Linked DNA regions of Homo sapiens: region 1 is linked to region 2. The links are contacts of gene promoters, found by promoter capture Hi-C in human tissues and cell types (Jung and others, 2019). All regions are on one chromosome and are shown on one strand. Each heading gives the region's core, a stretch centred on a gene start or on the middle of the fragment in contact. The rest is flanking DNA. Distances are from core to core; before and after follow the strand shown.

What was found. Contacts are between HindIII fragments. The study calls those that stand out against the background at their distance.
Region 1: a fragment that was not itself captured here is called in contact with the fragment with the promoter of CCDC7 in region 2 in 1 of the 25 tissues and cell types used here (dorsolateral prefrontal cortex).

What each region holds. Positions count from the first base shown.
Region 1 is chr10:32,957,998-32,960,497 of GRCh38, forward strand. It overlaps ITGB1 (integrin subunit beta 1), which reads right to left and starts at 233. Exons shown (of 16, transcript NM_002211.4): 1 at 148-233. RefSeq lists a silencer at 6-585 and an enhancer at 756-805. The HindIII fragment of the contact is 6,847 bases long and covers 1-2,500 here.
Region 2 is chr10:32,444,665-32,447,484 of GRCh38, forward strand. CCDC7 (coiled-coil domain containing 7) reads left to right here and starts at 1,476. Exons shown (of 44, transcript NM_001395015.1): 1 at 1,476-1,733. LOC101929431 (a long non-coding RNA gene) reads right to left here and starts at 1,392. Exons shown (of 3, transcript NR_120660.1): 1 at 949-1,392. RefSeq lists an enhancer at 1,027-1,346 and a silencer at 1,417-1,646. The HindIII fragment of the contact is 7,178 bases long and covers 1-2,820 here.

The DNA of each region.
Region 1 (2,500 bases), core at 1-2,500, 510 kb after region 2:
GCCGCCCCCGCCCCCGCCCCCGCCCCCACCCCCACGCCCGGCACAAAGGTCCCGGCGCGGCCCGGCCGGCGGCTTTAAGTGCTGCCGCGCACAGGAGACCGGAGGCCGCGGCCCGCGCTCCCACACCCGAGGCCCGCCGGCCCCTACCTTTTCCGCGCGGCGTCCGGGGCCCGGCGCGGTGGGCTCGGGCCTGCTGTTCCGCGACTCCCGCTGGGCCTCTCCCGCGGGCTGGCGGGGCCTCCCGGGTGTCGGGCGCGGCGGGTGGCGGCGGCTCCTCCTCCTCAGGGGCGGGAGGAGGGGACTCGGCGGCCCAGAGCCGCCCCCCGGCAGGAAACCAGCCGCGGCCCCGCCTCCTCTGCGCGTCTGATCCCGCTCCCGAGGCCGCCGCCGCCCTCTCCCTCCGGAAACGCATTCCTCTCCCGCCGCGTCAGCCCGGCCCGGGGCTAGGAGGAGGCGGAGGATGGGGCAGGAAGTGCGACCGGGACAAAGGAACCGGCTGCGCGGGAGCGCGCCTGAGGGAGGCCGCGGGGGGCAGGGCCGGGACTGCGTTGAGACAGTCGCCGTGCCTCAGTTTCCTCCTCTGCGAAGGGCGGGAGGAGTCGGACGCGCCCTAGAGCCCCGCGCGTTCCTGGTGTAGCCTGCTGGGCCCGTGTTCTTTAAGTTCCTCTTCCTCGGAGCCGCGCGTTCGACCCTCGCTCCCGTTTGTCCACTGATGTCCCGTTTCGAGCCCGGGAGATCCTGCATCTCGGAAGCCCCCTGAGTCCCGAGGCAAATCGGGACCGTGAGCCCCCCTACCCTGCAGGGCTCCATGGGGCCAAAAACCACGTGGTCCTTCTGGAAGGGAACTGGCTAAGCCAGGACTGCTTTTCTGGAGTGATAATGTGCTTGCCTGTGTCTAAGAGAAAGGTGAAGAATTGGGAAACCCATGGGTGTCACGAAGGGTGGTGAGACTGGGGAACGTTTTAGAAAACCTGGTGAGTTGCGTCCTGCTTTTGATAGATTTATCTGGAGGTACCTTTATGGGGAACAGGGATGAGAAGGAAAAGTTTCTTCCTAAGGAGTACAGTTTCTGTTTCACCTCTTAAAAAAAAAAAATTTGGAGATTGGGGCTGGAAACAACGTTTGAAAGAGAAGGAAACATTCATTATGAGAATGGCTGAACGCATGTCGATTCGATGATTGAAGTCTGTACCAGCCAAAATCATACTGAAACCCAGTAATTTAGTATATGCTACTGGCAAGCTGCTATCCTGGTAGCAGAAAATGCTGTGGGTTCCGCTTGGTGAGCTGCAGCACCCTGTTGGGAAAAGAGCTCAAAAATTACCAGATTTATGAAATAGAAGTGTTTCTCTTGCAGGAGATTAGGGACTGGAATGCCCATTTGGCTGCTGCCAATCAATATAAGAGAAAATGAAGCGATCACATCTAAGAAAATTTGCTCATTACTTACCAGCAAAATCAAAACTTGATTAGCCAATCTGAAGACCTCTAGGAAATGAGCACTATTTTTCCCACTTAATGGATGTTCAAGCTTAAGAGGCTAAATGATGTTCCTATATTAATATCTCAATGGTCAAACTGCCATTAGAACTCAACATTCTTGAATTTTAAAGGTATCGGTTTTACCATTGTTCAGAATTCATCAGAATTGGCCCAGTCTCAGCACAGAAAACTGTATAGTTCAAAAGCATAATTGGTCCGTGCCTGATTTGCACTACAATTTCCAGAATTTTTTTCCCTGTACGTGACTGGTGGAGGCACTAGCTAGTCTTTGCTACAAGAACATTATGAGATTTACATATGCACAACTCTAAACTAAATTAGTTCCTCCAGGACAATTTACTGAGCTTTTTAACACCACCGTCAAGCACTGTTGCAAGGACAGATAATAGGGGCTCAGATAATATCTGATAAATGAATAAATGGGTCCTTTTGCTCTCCCAGGACTGGGCTAGAGCACTTGACTAAACTGATGTGTGAGGTAGCAATTTGTGTACAGAAGTCATGAGTTTTGAGGAAAAAGAAATTAAAGAAACATGTTCTCTAAAAACTGCAGTCATTGGTCAAGAATACGAGTCTACTTGTGATTTCATACAAATAATGGGTGGACAGTGAGCTATGAAATTTATGAATACTCTAAGCAAAGGTTGGTCAGCATACGTGCTAAACAGGAAATCCTGATAAGTAGGAATAGTGCAAGCCACACTGCAACTTTTATCATATTAGGTTGGTGCAAGGTCTACCAGATGTGTCTTGCCTTCCCATGTGTAAGGTCAACCAGATAGCTCTCACCTTTCCATGTCTAAGGTCAACCAGGGGGTGCTTGCCTTCCCGTGTCTAAGGTCGACCAGATGGCTGTGTGCACCAACCTAATAGAACATCATAAGTATCTTGAGTTCAAGATAAATCCATACCTTACCTACACTGTCTCCCAATTATTATCAATTGTCTTCTGCCATCTCTTAAGTCATTATTATGTCAAATAATTAAAGTCGGTGTT
Region 2 (2,820 bases), core at 226-2,725:
GGGAGATTTGGAATTTAGCAATTCAATTCTTTCTAAACTACTTTCTTAATTTTATTGCCAACTTTAAAAAATAAAAAATTGTTGGTGGAAAGCTTAATAAATCTGATCATTTATATGTACATTTTCTTTGTTACTGACATAAAACACACATACTGAAAAGTGCATAAATAAGCATATGCCTTCATGTTTTTTTTTTTTTTTCTTTTTTAGATGGAGTCTCGCTCTGTTGCCCAGGCTGGAGCGCAATGGCACAATCTCGGCTCACTGCAACCTCCACCTCCTGGGTTCAAGTGATTCTCCTGCCTCAGCCTCCTAAGTAGCTGGGATTACAGGCACCCGCCATCACGCCCGGCTAATTTTTGTATTTTTAGTAGAGATGGGGTTTCACCATGTTGGCCAGGCTAGTCTCGAACTCCTGACCTCGAGTGATGCACTGCCTCAGGCTCCCAAAGTGCTGGGATTACAGGTGCGAGCCACCACGCCCAGCCTGCCTTCATGAATTTTTGAACACACCCAGAAAGAGCAGAAGACAGAACATTTCTGGTACACCAGAAGATGTGTTGTTTTCCCTTTCCAGGCAACCCCAATGGTAACTCCTAGTGGTGTGATGGAGCTAGCCTACACCAGCTCTTGGGAGCTGATAAATTTTCAGGAATCTCTTGTGAGGCATTCAGATTTTACTGGAAAATTAGAAATAATTAGATATAATGAATTTTCAGAGTTTTAGAAAATAGTTGAAATCTACTAAGTCAAATCTAAGGTCTCCTTTAAACCTCCTGGTTTTTAGTTTTAGTTCCATCTTTCCTATTCCTTTCATTTACACACAGGCATTATTAACAGTTAAATTGTATCAATTAATATTTTAAAATATTAAAAACATTTTACTTCGTTCAACTTAAAGACAAAATTAATATATTTCTTGAGGTCAAATTATCTAAAAAACTCTACCTTGTAAAATTGCATCTTAAAGCAGTGCGTGGAAACTGATGGCAAGAAACCACTTAAGTGTCACAACTCTGCTTCAAGTTAATTCCTAGTCCATTTGATTTTGTTTTGCTTTTAAGATCACGAAGCTGGTGTACACTTCCGTGCGAGCTTAGAGTGGTAATGAACTCCACAATACACTGAAAAGAGCTTGAGGAGACAGCAGATGAAGGACTGGGGCTCTGGTTTTGTAGCTGAAGCCCAGGTTCTCAAAGGTCCTACCAGGCCTGTACTTTATTTCTCCTCCGCGGGCCTCTAGGCCAAATGCCTGGATGAATCTGCGCTCAGGGGGCGTCCTGGAATTACACTTGGGAGAGAATAAGAAAGGAGGAGGCCGATGTGCCCATGGACATTATTAACCTTCCGGCAAATCCCCACAGCCGCCAAACTGCGTCTCCTCTTCCGCTCTCGGCGCGCAGCTCACGCTCGCAGCGTCAGCGACGCCGGCGGCGCCAAGGCGTCGTGGCGTCGGGCGCCTGGGACGTGGCTTCAACGGCCCCATCCGGCGCCGGCGGCGGGTGCCCGGCGGTCTTTGCTGCCGCCCGGGGGCGCAGAGGCCGGGCCTTTTCTTTCAGCACAAACGTCAGTTTGTAAAAGGGAGGTGCTGGAGTCTGAGGAGTTTTCAGGCTTCCGTCTCGAAGGAAGTCTGGCAGGCTCGGAATTGTCATCTTCCTCAGGCAAATAGTTTTTCACCTTAGAGCCAGCAAGGCCAAACCGCCCAGTCACCCGACTTCCCACAGTCTCAGCAGGTACACAGGGCGGGGAGCCTCGGGAGCGGCTCCCTTAGCAGGACCTGAGGGTTTCGGGAGAGTCCTGGCTTTGCACTTAGTTTTCCCGCTGCCTGGCTGCCTCCGTGGCGGTTGTGCTGCTTTTTATGCAGGATGTAGGATCGAAGGCAAATCATCCTTTCCCTACGTCCCCTGCCAACCCCTGCCGCTCTCCTCTATTTTGTACACTTTATCATTAAAGGATTTGAAATGAATGTAAGTTAATCCTTGAAGGATGAAACCAGAAAACATTTGTCGTGGTGGCGGAAAGGGACGGATGCACTTGGGCGAAGTAATGCTGACATCCACTTCCTAGCATTGTTAGGAGGGATAAATGAATTAAATATGTAAAGTCCTTAAATATTTGCTTGCTAATACGAGTATTCATTGCGTGTGACTATTTTTGTATTTATGTGAACTTCATCGGAGCATTTGTCAGGTTCTTTTTTTTTGCACCAAGTGAGCGTTGCCTGCCTGCCTGCCTGCCTGCCTCCCTCCCTCCCTCCCTTCCTTCCTTCCCCTCTTCCCTTCCTCCCTCCCTCCCTCCCTCCCTCCCTCCCTCACACTTTTTTGGGGAGAGAGGACACAATGCAATCCATAACAGCATATACACTTGTTCTTTTTTCCATCGAACTTTCCTCTTGACCATGTTTTCTTCTAGTAATACTGTATTTCTTTACTCCCTTTTATAGTAAAATTTCTCTACAGTGCTTATATTCAATTCATTGTTCCTACTTCCTCTCTTTTGAACGGTAAGTCAGATATTTACCTCGATCATTCTACTGAAATTGTTGCCGTTCTTCAGGTTACAAATGACCTACCTCCATGTTGCCAAATCCAGTGTCAGCTTAGTCTTCATTTTACTTGACTCAGCATTTGACGTAGTTCATCACTCGGTCCTTGGTGATATTTTCTTTTCCTTGCTTTCTATGTATATATAACCTTTTGGTTTTACTTATTGGCTCATTGGCCACTCTTCTTACGTCCTGTTTCCTGGTCCTGATGGTTTTGATGGAATTTTTGATGTTTGCTTGGACCTGAAGGTTTTGATGGAGTTTCTTTGGCAATG